Linked DNA regions of Homo sapiens: all the other regions are linked to region 2. The links are contacts of gene promoters, found by promoter capture Hi-C in blood cells and fetal thymus (Javierre and others, 2016). All regions are on one chromosome and are shown on one strand. The core of a region is centred on a gene start or on the middle of the fragment in contact, and the rest is flanking DNA. Distances in the headings are between cores, read along the strand shown.

Evidence for each region. Contacts are between HindIII fragments. The CHiCAGO score rates a contact against its expected background, and 5 or more counts as called.
Region 1: a contact is called between a fragment that was not itself captured here and the fragment with the promoter of ARMC2 in region 2, in 1 of 17 cell types (megakaryocytes). The highest score is 5.3, in megakaryocytes.
Region 3: a fragment that was not itself captured here is called in contact with the fragment with the promoter of ARMC2 in region 2 in 1 of 17 cell types (megakaryocytes); the score reaches 5.1 in megakaryocytes.
Region 4: a fragment that was not itself captured here is called in contact with the fragment with the promoter of ARMC2 in region 2 in 3 of 17 cell types (M0 macrophages, monocytes and M2 macrophages); the score reaches 5.7 in M0 macrophages.
Region 5: a fragment that was not itself captured here is called in contact with the fragment with the promoter of ARMC2 in region 2 in 1 of 17 cell types (total CD8 T cells); the score reaches 5.6 in total CD8 T cells.

Annotation. Positions count from the first base shown.
Region 1 is chr6:108,600,875-108,603,574 of GRCh38, forward strand. The region is part of intron 1 of FOXO3 (forkhead box O3); the gene reads left to right. Among named protein-coding and RNA genes, the nearest start is that of FOXO3, 41 kb to the left of the region's middle. The HindIII fragment of the contact is 167 bases long and covers 1,355-1,521 here.
Region 2 is chr6:108,847,006-108,849,705 of GRCh38, forward strand. It overlaps ARMC2 (armadillo repeat containing 2), which reads left to right and starts at 1,417. Exons shown (of 18, transcript NM_032131.6): 1 at 1,417-1,541. RefSeq lists a silencer at 1,675-1,774. The HindIII fragment of the contact is 2,745 bases long and covers 1,192-2,700 here.
Region 3 is chr6:109,051,805-109,054,504 of GRCh38, forward strand. All of the region lies in intron 1 of SESN1 (sestrin 1), which reads right to left. It also overlaps a transcript of ARMC2 not described here. Among named protein-coding and RNA genes, the nearest start is that of SESN1, 42 kb to the right of the region's middle. The HindIII fragment of the contact is 3,317 bases long and covers 1-2,700 here.
Region 4 is chr6:108,619,841-108,622,540 of GRCh38, forward strand. All of the region lies in intron 1 of FOXO3 (forkhead box O3), which reads left to right. Among named protein-coding and RNA genes, the nearest start is that of FOXO3, 60 kb to the left of the region's middle. The HindIII fragment of the contact is 2,327 bases long and covers 171-2,497 here.
Region 5 is chr6:109,023,303-109,026,101 of GRCh38, forward strand. The region is part of intron 1 of SESN1 (sestrin 1); the gene reads right to left. It also overlaps a transcript of ARMC2 not described here. Among named protein-coding and RNA genes, the nearest start is that of SESN1, 70 kb to the right of the region's middle. The HindIII fragment of the contact is 1,177 bases long and covers 945-2,121 here.

The sequences.
Region 1 (2,700 bases), core at 188-2,687, 250 kb before region 2:
GAGACATCCCATGTACCATTATCTAGTTCCCCTTGTGTTAATATATTGCAAAACTGTAGTTCACACAACCAGGATATACTGACATTGATACTGTCAAGATACAGAACATTTCTTATCACTGCAAGGATCCTTCCTATTGTCTTTTTTTTTTCTGACGGAGTCTTGCTCTGTCCGCCAGGCTGGAGTGCAGTGGCGCAATCTCAGCTCACTGCAAGCTCCGCCTCTGGGGTTCACTCCATTCTCCTGCCTCAGCCTCCCCAGTAGGTGGGACTACAGGCACCTGCCACCATGCCCGGCTAATTTTTTTTTTTGCATTTTTAGTAGAGACGGGGTTTCACTGTGTTAGCCGGGATGGTCTCGATCTCCTGACCTTGTGATCCACCCACCTCGGCCTCCCAAGGTGTCCTAGTGCTTTTTAAAACATTTTATTTTTATTATTTTATTTTTGAGACAGAGTCTTGCTCTGTTGCCTAGGCTGGAGTGCAATGGCACAATCTCGGCTCACTGCAGCCTCCGCCTCCTGGTTTCAAGTGATTCTCCTGCCTCACCCTCCCGAGTAGCTGGGATTACAGGCGCCCACCACCTTGCCCGGCTAATTTTTGTATTTTTAGTAGAGACGGAGTTTCACCATGTTGGCCAGGCTGGTCTTAAACTCCCGATCTCAGGTGATCCACCTGCCTTGGCCTCCCAAAGGGCTGGGATTAGAGGGGTGAGCCACCGCACCCAGCCCCCCTTCTATTGCTGTCTTATAGCAACAGCTACCTCCTTTCCCCTGCCTAACTTGACCCCTGGCAACCATTAATCTGCTCTTCATTTTTATAATTTTGTCATTTCAAGAATGTTACATAAGTGATCATGTTATATCATACAGTATATGGATTTTTGGGATTGACTTTTTCCATTAAGCCTGATTTCCTGGATCCAAGTTGTTACACATCTCAGTAGTGTGTTCCTGTTTGTTACTCAGTAGTGTTCCACTGTATGGCTAGGTTACATTTTATTTATTCACTCATCACTCAATGGACATTTGGGTTGTTTTCAGTTTGGGGCTATTTTGAATAAAGCCTTGTGCTATGAATATTAATTTACAGGTTTTTATGTGAACGTAAATTTTCATTTTTCTGGGATAAATGCCCAATGACTTCATTTTAATGATGGCAAAATATTTCATTGTATGAAATAAATATTTCATTAATTTAGCTGATTTCTTCTAAATGGGTTGTTAAGGGTTTTTCCCCCTAGTTTTTCTGCTGTTATAAATATCACTGATGAAAATATTTTAGGTAAATCTTAATGTATATCTACTTTTATTTCTAGAAGTGGAATTGATGTCTGAGAGCATACAGAATTTTAAAGCTTTGCTTTTTCTAGTCACTCTTTTTTTTCTTTCCTAAAATCTTCCTAAACTCCTACCATCAATGTATGAAAGTGCCCATTCTCATACCCTTGCCAACACAGAGCATTATTACTTTAAAAAATCTTTGTAAATTTCTGCCATACGCCTGTAGCAGCATAACCTAAAGCTTCACTGTAAGTTTTCCAATCCCACTTGGCCTAAGAAGATCTTTCAGAGTAACAGAGATGCCACCAAGATCTTGTTTTTTGCGTGAAGTTTGGGACTCTGCAGCTTCATAGAACCTCAGAGGATTTGGTCTAGAATGGGGTAAAGAATTACAGGAAATCACTGAGTTTTTGTATGTTGCTGCTGTCTGTTATTTGTCCCTCATATTTATCCAGAAGGAGGCAAGTGTGCTGTCATAAGCAATAGCATTAAAACCAAACCAAAAAAAAAAACCTTTTATTATTAACAAAGGTTATTTTTTTATAATAGATGTGGATAACTTTTTATAAAGGCCGATTAATATAAGCAATATAGATGATTGTGTACATGTGTCTTTCTGTGTGTTTTGTATTATAGGAACCTATTTTGAAGCTCTTAGAGCTGAGAGTTAAGTGGTCTTTTAATGGAACTGCTAAGACAAGGTAGAGTAGGAGATACTTTTCTTCCCTCTTTATGCTGAAGTGTTTTAGTGTTTCTGTCTGTGACTAGGCAGTAACTTTGAAAGGAATAAGATAGGGTTAATAACATATCTACTAAAACTTGGAAAATATACTATATTTTCTGAGATAAAAATCTTTGGATTGAAAATTACTTTCTGGTGGAATATGGCAAACTGACATTCATTCAATGTAAGACTTTTTTTCCCTCACTTTTTGTGTTTTCATCTGTAGTTTTTTTTTTTCTTTTTTACCTGTGGTACCATTTTTAAGGTGAATCAGGCCAGTTTCAGCAAAAAATGGTTGTACTGTTCATCACTTCAGTAGAAGGTAGGATGACTTCGATGAGGTTGTGCTCAGTAACTTCTCTGGTGCTGAATTAGTGTCCTGTGACAAAGAAGGATCCCATTCTTACAAATAAATGAATAAAGGAGACTAGCAGAATCTGGCATTTCTCTTTTTAAAAGTTTATAATCAATTATTCATTCAGTCATTCAAGTACCTTCTACATGTTTGCAGCTAAAGACTAATGAGTGTAATTAAACAAGTGGATCAAGTAAAGCATCAGCCATGAAAACTTTTCACTTTCTCGGGGATGATAAAGGACCCTCCTTTTTTTCCTTGTCATATTTTCCAGTTTATCATGATTCTTATGGTATTGGTGATTTTAACTTTAAGTGTCTAGAAAATTTACGCACATTT
Region 2 (2,700 bases), core at 167-2,666:
ATGAGCTGCTTTAACCATAAGCCAGCACAGCAAGCTTGAAGCTGCTCAACTCCAGGAAGAAATGCTCCATCTCCTTCCTTCTCCTCCTCCTCCTCACTGCCAGTTTGATCCAAGCTGGGCCTTAAACAACCTCTAGTGAATAGAGGGGCGGGTGGGGGTCGGGGACAAGCCTAAGCCTAGTGCACCCCTTCAGGGAAGGCCAGCTAGAGACCTTAAGCCTGGGGCTGGAATGGGGGAGGAAGACTTTTTGAAGTTTGATGCATTTGTTTATATCTTGCACCCAACATTATAGTTTTGAAATGAAGCTGTGGTTGAGATTTAGTTACAACAAGACTGTCAGTTATCTAAGAATGAGCAGAAAAATCCAGGGCTGTTTCGGGTCCTAAAATTATCCAATCAACGAATAGGTATTTATTTTCTGTTATGTTTGAAATCCTCTTGAGTATTTTGAAGAATATTTACATTCCTTTAGTTCAGGTTAGTATAATTTCCCACCTGGCACGATGCCTTACACATAGTATGTGCTCAAAAATATTTTCAATTTAATTATTCTTTACAAGATGCTTAGCACCAAGGGAAGTGGCATTTTCCCAGTGTTGATGACAAATAGCACTTCAGCTGGAAAATCTCCATATTTATAAAACGTGGTGCAAACCTGAATGGAGAGTGCTTATGATCTCACTTTTATTTAACACTGTACAGTGTTGCTAAATGGTCTAACAGGAGAAAAGGGAATTTAAACTAGAAACACATAAATGGAGTGCTTTTTGCCGTTCAACTGTGATGATGCACGAACAAAAAACGATTGGCCACGGGAGACCTAGACTGGAATCTCCTTCTCCTGCTCACTACACCTCAGGCCCCCAGTTCCTCTCCTGTGGATGGGGACGCCAGGCTGCCTACCTCAGACTCAGAAGGTACGATTACGTGCATACACTCTGCGAACTGAAGGGCTGTACAAATGCAAGGGCTTAATAACAGCCAACAGTTTAATATTCGTTGATTGCCACGTGCATAGCGCTTTACATCTATTTTCTCATGCAGTCTTCATAACAGCCCAAGACCTACCTAGGTACTATTATTAATATTTCCTGCCACTTGACATCGGAGGAAACAGAAGCTCAGCAAGTGGCTCCAGGTTATACAGAGCCCTAACCTGAGCCAGTAAATCCTTCTTACCCACAAGCATTAAGCTTCCGTCCTGCCTGCTGTTATTTAACAGAGGTGCTGGGATCCGGCAGGGGAGCAACAAATGTGGTTCGGCAAATTGCTAAACGAAAAGCGGACACCCGCCCACGACGCCTGCTCTGATCTGACCTCCCGGCCTACAGCCCTCTCCAGGCTCCTCCCACCCGCTCCGGCCGTCGCCACGCCTCGGAGCTTCTACGCATGCGTTGGCGGGACCCGCGCAGGCCCAGTGGCCGAGCGGCGTCGTGGGGTTACCCCGCCCGCGCCAGCGCTGCATCCCTGGCCGCTACCCGGGGAGAGCCGGAGGATGAATTGAACCTCGCAGCCGCTGCTATCTCCAGTGCTCATCACAGGTGCTTTGGGTCAGGTCGGAAGCCTCCTTCCCTGAGCCCTCGCCAAGCTCATTCCCCGGCCCGCCTCTCCCGCCCTGCAGCGGCCTGGCCCTGCGGTCTGGCTGCCGGGGCGGCGGCGGGAGGTAGTTTGTGTACGGTTACCATGGAGACGCTGGCTGCGGGGCGAAGTGGGAGGGTGGCCGGGCGGGGTGAGGATGCTGCTGCGCCCTGCCCTGGCCGGGACCGTGGAGGAGCGGGCACTGCCGTGGGTGGGGGAGCCGCTGTCCGAGCGGGAGGTGAGGTGTCCCCAGCGGCTCCCCAGGGACCCTTCCTGCCGTCGTCCGCCTGTGTGTCCTCGGATGGGGTAGAGAGACGATGAGTGCCCTGTGCATGCTGTCAGGGGTCCGGAGCGGTTGTCTTTTATTTATGTACTGTCGCACTTAGCCAAGTGCGTGGTGCTTAATAAGAAGCCCAGTAATATTTGTTGAATGAGAGTGGTAGACTAAGGGGCTTTGTCTAGGCAGGCGGTGACCGGGCCAGAGTCATACAGTTTATATCTGGGCACTTCCAGGCAACAGGGCCTCAATAAATAAAAACGTATGTGTAACAATATTTAACATACTTTAAAATCATGGAGTGTATACATAATGCCTTTTGTGATCCATTCCCACAAGTAACACAACAGATCTTACGTCCCACCCTGATTTATAATAATTATACTTTAATTTGGTTGAAAAGCAAGCACCATTTATTATATTTATCCTGGTTTCTTAATCTATGGGATTCTGGTTGTTGATGTTGATTTGGCATAGCTGATATTCAATAAAATGCTTAATAAAAATTATCTGTTTTCATAAAGGCAAGTACCACCACCCACCTTTTAAAAGGAGAAGTACGTAATGTAAATGACGAGTTGATGGGTGCAGCAAACCAACATGGCACATGTATACCTATGTATCAAACCTGTACATTGTGCACATGTACCCTAGAACTTAAAGTATAATAATAAAAAAAAACTTATGTATAGAAACACTGAACAAACGTCATTCTCTCTTTTGCAATTTCTTTTTTTAAATGTAGTTTTTCATTCGTGGAAATGATTTTGCTGTATCCTTTTATCATGTAGCACTTGGGCAATAATTGTTAACATCTTTAAGGGCCATATTTTAAAATGTTAACA
Region 3 (2,700 bases), core at 169-2,668, 200 kb after region 2:
ATAAGGGCCTTCTTGCTATCTCCTTACATGACAGAAGACAGTCGAACAAAGGCAAGTTAGCCAAACCCTGTGTGAAGCCTCTTTTATAAGGACCTTAATTCCACTGATGAAGGAGCAGCCCTCTGGCCTAATCACCTTTTAAAGACCCCACCTCTTAATACTATCACATTGACAGCACCCAAATTTTGGAGTGACACATTCAAACCACAGCAGACAACAATGGCTTATTAGCTTGGTGCAAAAGTAATTGAGGTTTTTGCCATTACTTTTAATAAGACAGATGTAGAAGATAAGTTTCAAACCAAAGTCAGACAGGTAGCTGCAAATACATCAAAATGAAAATTCAACAAAGAAAGGAATTGTTGCTTATTTTATTATAATCTCATCCTCTTAGCCTAAAACAGTGCCTGGCACTTTGTAGTTGCTCAGTAAATAATTGTTAGATAAATGAATGAAGTTTCCCTCTATAAATTCCAGAAATATTTGAGAAAATTTTAAAGATAATTTTTGTTATTATAAAGCAATGTTTTACTGTAAAAGTGAAGACTATATTGATATAAATATATAAGCATAGACACAAAATGATTAAAATTGATCATAATCCTACCACTCAAAGAAAGCCACTGCTATTATAACACACTGGTATATTTACTTTCAGTTCTCTTTCTTATGTATATTTTTAGACAGCTGAGATCAAACATTACTTAAAATAGTTTATCTAGACTTCAATGTTCACTTAAAGTTTTAATATAATCCTTTCCCAATGTTATTGAAAATGAGAGTATTCATTATGTACTTTTTAAATGTTATATTTAAACATTCCAAAAGGCCTGAAAACAATTTTTATTGACAAGCAGGTTTTATATAAGTTACTGGCAGTAGATTATTCTCTAGTCATTGATATTGAATTTGTGATTTATAGGCTTAAAGGCAAAACTATACTACAGGAAACATTTCAACCATTAAGTATGCAGTTTTGAGACGAGACAGAATATTCCTTTAGTTCATTCATTTGTCCCTACACTCGACAAATATTTATTGTTGACTTAATCCAGACTAAGTACTGAGAATAGGATGAGCAAAACTACACAGCTGCTACCCCGTAGAGCTTATAATCTAGTCAAGGGAGACAGACATTAATCAAACAATCAATAAAGTAATTGAAAGTTGTAAATGTTAGGAATAAGAGGTATATGGTCATATACGTCACTATTCAATAAAAGGAGCTGTTCAAGACTAGGATGTGTGTGTGTGTGTGTGTGCGTGCGTGTGTGCACAGCAGGGAATTGGGGGTAGGAGGTAGGTTGGGAATAATTTTGTCTAACATTTAAGAAGTACTTCATTCAATGCTAGTGAAGCCTTGTGTTGGAAACATATGGCTTCTCTCATTTTCTTATTTGATAATCACAGCATCTTATGAGTAAGAATTATCTTCCTTCACCTTACAGATAAAGAAATTGGGGCTCAGAGATAAGTCAAATAACTTAAGATTATACAGCCAGTAAATAATGAACTGGGATGAAAACCCAAACAATAAGACAACAGAGCGCTTAAGTCATATGCCACATATCCCACTTCCCTGCATAACTGACAATTATACTAAGATATAAAGGATAAGCTGGTGTTAATAAAGCATGGTGTGGGGGAGGGGAAGAGAGAACATTCCATGCAGACTGAGAAACATGAGAAAGCCCCAAGACAGGAGAGGCTGCTATAAATTAAAGTGGGAACAACAGCAGTAACAAAGCCAGTGAACTAAGTAAGGACACAGAAAGTAATGGGAAATATGGAGATGAGACTGGGAGATGAGGCTGGGCCAGTGAAAGCCCTCATGGGCCACATGAAGGACTCTGGCATTCCTAAATGCAATGAGAAGGCATTAGACGCTTTCACTGCTTTTATCTGAAATTCAAACACTTAAGGGAAAGAAAATTCATAAAGGTTGGATCTCATGAAACAAGAACTAGAAGGACGAACACTCGCTCAGTTTTGAAAATATTTTCTAGGACCTATCATATCTGTATTAATAAGTATGCATACTTCAGGAATTTTAAAAGTGGTAGCTTTTGAATACCCTTTAAGATAAACCAAATGTAGACAAATTTAACAGAGGCTTGGGTTTGCCTTCTGGGTCTGGGCAATTACCTTTACTTTGTGCAATTTTAGTAGTTTTCATCTTTATTTTGGAATTACTTCTTGCCCCAGTTTTTCCCTTGTCAATTTTTTAATATTTTTAATATTGTTGGCAAGACATTTCTTTTCGTTTTTTCTTAATTTTTTGGGGGGGGAGGGATCTGGGAAAAATTCCCTGAACATACATCTAAGTAATTGTCAATTTAATTTTCTGCCGATTATTCATACCAATGATGAAAAACAAATTTACTTAAATATAGAAACTAAGACTAACTCTGAAAGTTATGATGATGGAATAGAACTTAAATGTCATAGATCTTAAGAATATTAAAATAATAACTTGACTAACAAAAATACGAGGTAAGAGGAAGGAAAAAACAAGTTCATTAATTTTCTCAGTTTAACAGAAGAGAATGATACAGTCTAAAGGTGAAAAAATATTTTTATACTCGATTTTTTATAATCCTTAAAAAATACAGTAAAGAATTCCTTTAGAGCTCTATTGTGAAGAAATATTATTTTTGCCCTAAGTGGAATTACTGATAAAAAGATAAAATTATGTTACAC
Region 4 (2,700 bases), core at 84-2,583, 230 kb before region 2:
AAGAGTTTTAATTTGGCGTGTCTTAATGCCTAAATCTCACTTAAGCTTGGTTGCAAAGCCTGGCAAATCAGTCTTCTGTACATGGCAAGCTAAGATGTGGCACCATCTTCTTGAGGTTTCATATCCTAAACCTGTCTGTCCTTACAGGTTAAATTCAAAGGATAGGGCCAAGCTTGATTTGCTGTAGTCATAGTGAATCATCACAGATCCATTCTTAGTGCAGAAGAGTTAAATAATTCCTTGGCCAAGAGCATGGTGCCTTCCCCAGACCAATTTCTAACAGTGTCCTCTGTTAGATCTTTAAGTTAATAAATTCTTTTATTAGATTTTTGGGTCAGAAAAACAGACTATGCTTGTACTCAGGAGCCCAGAAATACATAATATAATTGACTAATTCCTGTCTTTGAGGTCTTAACGTGGTTTCATGTGCCTTTTGATTTGTTTTTACATGTGGATCATTTTCCCTTAACACTTTAATATGATACAATTTTTGTCTATCGTTTTTCTTAAATAGGAGGGAGAAAATTTTTTTTAGTAGGAAAATATCTGGTGGTAAGTGGCATCTTTTTATTCCATGTGGGATGCAGAAGTTTCTCCCAAAAACTGAAGTGACCTGCTTTTTGCAGATAGGACCCCTGTATTTCTCCCATATTACTTTATAGCTGGTAGATGGTAGGGCTGTACACAGCAAATGGGTTTGAATGCATGATGGTTTTCTGGTGGAGCTGAGATAATTAGTATTATGAAGCCACGCTTCTGATTGTGAGAATGAGAACATCAAGTCATTATTTATCTTGGAAAGAACGAATAATTTGTTTATAGTAATAACAATTTTCTTTTATTTTTCTTTCTCTTAGTCAATAGCTGCTGCTGTTGGCAGCTTATTATGAAAAGATTTCAAGTTGTAGTTTTTAACCTGGGGTGGGAGTAGGGGAGAAGAAAATTAATATCGTAAATGTTTTTACTTGATAAAAGTTTTATTTGATACAGAGCCTATACTGGTGTTTTTATTGAATAGTGTTTTATTGCTGACATTCAATACTCTCTTTGCCTGTAGCCTCCCACGTTATCCAAAATGAAGGCACTTCTTAGATGTTTCAATGAATGATACAACCAAAAATATTAAAATGCCTATTTAAGTCATATCTTATTTAAAGCCCCATTTCAAAGGAGGATTTTGAGGATAATTAGTATTTTAATTGTTAAAGTTAGATAATTTTGTTTGGATGGAAAATCTATGTTCCTGTGAAATTGGGGTTTATGAAATAAGATTGGAAAAAAATAGAGTGTATAATTGGGCACATTCTGTACTGCTTAGTGAATCACCAAACGAGTGTAATCACCATTAAGCACTTTAAAAGCTATGCTTGTATGTCCTCGCTCTGCCTGCAGAGCTAGGAGTGCCCACGAGGAACAGCAGTTCATTCAGGCTGTAGTCATTGGGGTGACTCGTGGAACCCCTGCCTGTGTGAGTAAGCCCGCTGCCTTGCCAACTGCCTGCTGTGTGAGTCTCAAAGACATCAGATGTCATCAAGCCACAAGGACTTCTTGGTCATTCTTAAGGCCATGGCAGGAGCACAGTTCAAAATCCAATTCACAAGGCAACGTCTGGAAGAAAGAATCAAGTATGTGTGTAGTGCATGATGTACCTCAGCTACTGTAGTGAAAAATTGTTGGGATGAGTCTTTCACCATGTTAGTGTTTTTTTTTGTTTTGTTTTGTTTTTTGAGACAGAGTCTTCCTCTGTCACCCAGGCTGGTGTGCAGTGCTAAATATCCTGCAGTGCATAGGAGAGGCCCACAGCAGATGTGTCCAGCTCAAAATGCCAGTAGTGCCAGGGCTGAGAAACCTACCTGAAGCCTCACAGTGGCATGGTCCGTTTCAGAAGTATGTGGGAGAGAAAATTGAAGGTGAGAGGTCTGTAGCTCTCCTGAAGTCAGGCCACATAAGTACTTTGCCAGGTAGGTAGTGCCTAGTGACAGGGATGTACTAGAAAGAATTCCTCTTGAGCTTGGCCTTGGGTCTCGTGCAGACATGTTCATGTGACATTAGGGGAGGCTGTGGGCCTCAGGCAGCTAAGGAGTAACTGGCAAGTTTTGTATGGAGAGTCGGGAAGACAGAAGCAGGGGCAGCCGGGAGTGGTGGCTTACCTAGTAATCCCAGTACTTTGTGAGGCCAAGGCGGGTGGATCACTTGAGATCAGGCGTTTGAGACCATCCTAGCCTGGCCAATATGATGAAAGCCCATCTCTACTAACAATACAAAAAAATTAGCTGGGTGTGGTGGCGCATGCCTGTCATCCCAGCCACTTGCGAGGCTGAGGCAGGAGAGTCGCTTGAACCCAGGAAGTGGAGGTTGCAGTGAGCCCAAATCATGCCACTGCACTCCAGCCTGGGCGACAGAGCAAGACTGTCTCAAAAAAAAAAAAAAAAAAAAAAAAGGCAGGGATATCTGAGACTTAAGTTCCTCTTGGAGAGCTGGAGGGTCAGGAGAGCGAAGCTTTCTATCTTGCTTTGTACCTGAGATCTCCTTGAATCAGGGTGGGCAGGGAGAGAGAAGGGATCTGTTCAGACATTTCCTTTTGGGGTCAAATGAGAGGAAGGAGTCCTTGCCCCTTGGAGAATTACTGCAAGGATCTGGTTGAGTTGAGAATTTGTTTCCCCCACCAGTATTGTTTTTGGTGTTTTTTTGTTTTGTTTT
Region 5 (2,799 bases), core at 283-2,782, 180 kb after region 2:
TTATCATAACTTCCTTCAAAAGTCTTCTCAAATTTCATCTTCTGAACAAAAGTTTGTAAATGTTATCATGCTGAATAAGGAAAATCTTCTACCACTTGACAGTTTACCATGCTAACAGTGACTGTTAACCTCCAAAATATGATCCACTATGTTTTTTTGATACTTTTATAAATAATGTTAGTGGATGTGCCTATGTTGTGTTCAGTTTTAAGGCACAACCACAGAGTATTTATGAGTCCCTTTTGGTCTATGTTAAGAGTACATTCTGTCCCAGGTGCAAGGATTTGGGGAAGTATGTTTGGGGACATATGTTTATCTTACTTTGAAATTACAACTACTGGCACATCACATACAAATAGGTACTTAAACTGCATTTTCATTATGTTACAGGCTTTGCACATAGAATACTAAAGAGAAAGCAACAGGTTTGGATCTAACAAAATAAAATGAGTAAAATTACCATTTGGCATAAACAAAATGTAACATTTTATGTAAAAGGAAAAATATAAAAACATAAATGAAGACTTACATTGTCAAATAATCATTATTAAAGTCACTTTCATATATTTAAAGCATAAGAGAATATTGTAGATTGTTCTTAGTGGCTAAATATGTTACTGCCTACTCAAAGAATGAGTGATTTTTTTTTCTGTAGAATGAAATTCAATGATCACACACACACACCCTTAAAATGTTTTCCCACACATTTGAAAATCAGTAATTTTTGCCAAAATAGATGTTGACTATTGATATAGCAACATTTCATTATATCTCAATTGACTTTTTAAAAAACAATCTCATGAATCTAGAACAAATTAAAAAAAAGATGTAAAATAGATGTCACAAAATTTACATACCATAGCATATGTACTGTATTCAGTGGAAAACCCTTCACCTGCCTCTCTTAGAGACAATTTACTTTTACTTGGTACAAAATTATAACAAGCTTCTTTATCTAGTTTCTAAGTCCATAGTAACTTATTAGGGCATAGGGACTACCATTAAACTGATAGCAGAGAAAAAAGGAATAGTGAAGCACTTAATCACAAAGGAAGAATCAGAAAAATTCTATAAAGCAGAAATAAGAACTTGGATAGCACAGTAGCAGGAAGCCATTTTCTATAAGGGTAATGGTCCTATAAGCCTTAAAAAGCCCTGACAGCACCGCCCTCTCCCAGATTAGGTTAAAAACTGACCTCGATATTAGTGCTTCTTACTCATGTTGGACAAAATACCTAAAAATATTTCTACAGATGCTTCTCAACTTACAATGGGGTTATGACTCAATAAGTTGAAAATATCATAAGTAAAAAATGCATTTAATACACCAAATCTTCTACATTATAGTCTAGCCTAGACTACCATAAATGTGCTCAGAATGCTGACATTAGCCTACAGTTGGGCAAAATCATCTGGCAACATGGTAGAGTATTGGTTGTCTGTCTTTGTGATTATGTGGCTGAGAACTGTCACTTGCTGCCACTGCCCAGCATTGTGAGTATCGTACTACTTTCCACAGCATTTTTCTACTGAATGTGTGTTGCTTACACACCTTAGTAAAGTCAAACAATTGTTAAGTGGAACTATCACAAATTGGAGACCTGTGTGTAAGAAATATTGTTTAAAATGGCCGAACTGGCAAAGTAACAGAAATCCTCAGAAACCAAAACCCACCGACAGGAGGAGTCTAGGGAGACAGTGAGCACTAAGGCTGGCAGCTGTGGATCCCCAGGGACCTAGAGCAGCAGCACAGAAAACAGAAGGCAAATCCTAGGACTTGGGAAATTGGGAGGTAGATCAGAGACCCCATCATAAAGCCAAAACCCAAGGGGCTAAACGCTCAAAGCATGAACAAGGAAAAACACCCCATTTACAAAAGAAGACAGAAGATTTGCCTGTTTTAAGGTTTATTCTTGGTGGAAGGGGTAAAATCTCCCCTGAATATTCATAAACACAAGGTGGATCACACATAAGGAGGTGGGGGATGAATTCCCTTATTACCTACCTGCTCTTAAAAGCAAGGTAAATATTTAGTATAAAGTGGGCTGGTTATGTCCCCCAGGTTCCAGTTAGAAATAAATAGAGATTTTCTCTGAAGGAGATACAATTCCAATGAATATAAGCTTACAATAATAAAAAGTACTATGCAAAAAGATGCCATTAGTGAGGACTACAGGAAACAATAATCACCTAAGACTGCAAAGTCAGATGCAGTCTGACTGCCAGAAATCATCTGCAAAGACTTTGGATACTAGATACAGAAGGCCAGTTCAATATGCTTTTTAAAACTTTAAAGGAAATAGAAAGTATGGGTGAGAAACAGGAAACTATCAAAAAATAACTAGACAGATTTGAAAATGAATGAAATAGTTTTTATAATAATTAAAACTTAAAATTCAATAAACAGCATACTCAGTATAGCTGAAAATTATTAGTAAACTAGAAAGTAAATCTGAAGAGTCCAGAATATAGCACATACAGCAAAGAAATGAAATTTATGAGAGAGAAAATAAAAGACATGTTAAGATGAAATAGAAGGTCTAATACATATATAATTGGAAGGAGAAAACAGAAAGAATAGGACAAAGGTAATATTCTAAGACACGATGGTTAAGGATTATCCAGAACAGATTAAAGACACCAATACTCTTTTTTTTTTTCAGGAAGCACAATGAATCTCATGCAGAATAACTTAAAAAAATTATACCTTGGCCTACAGTAAAACTGAAAAATTTCAAGGAAAGAGATCTTAAAGTCCATGAAAGGGAAAAGTCAGATTACCTACAAAGGGAAAACTAA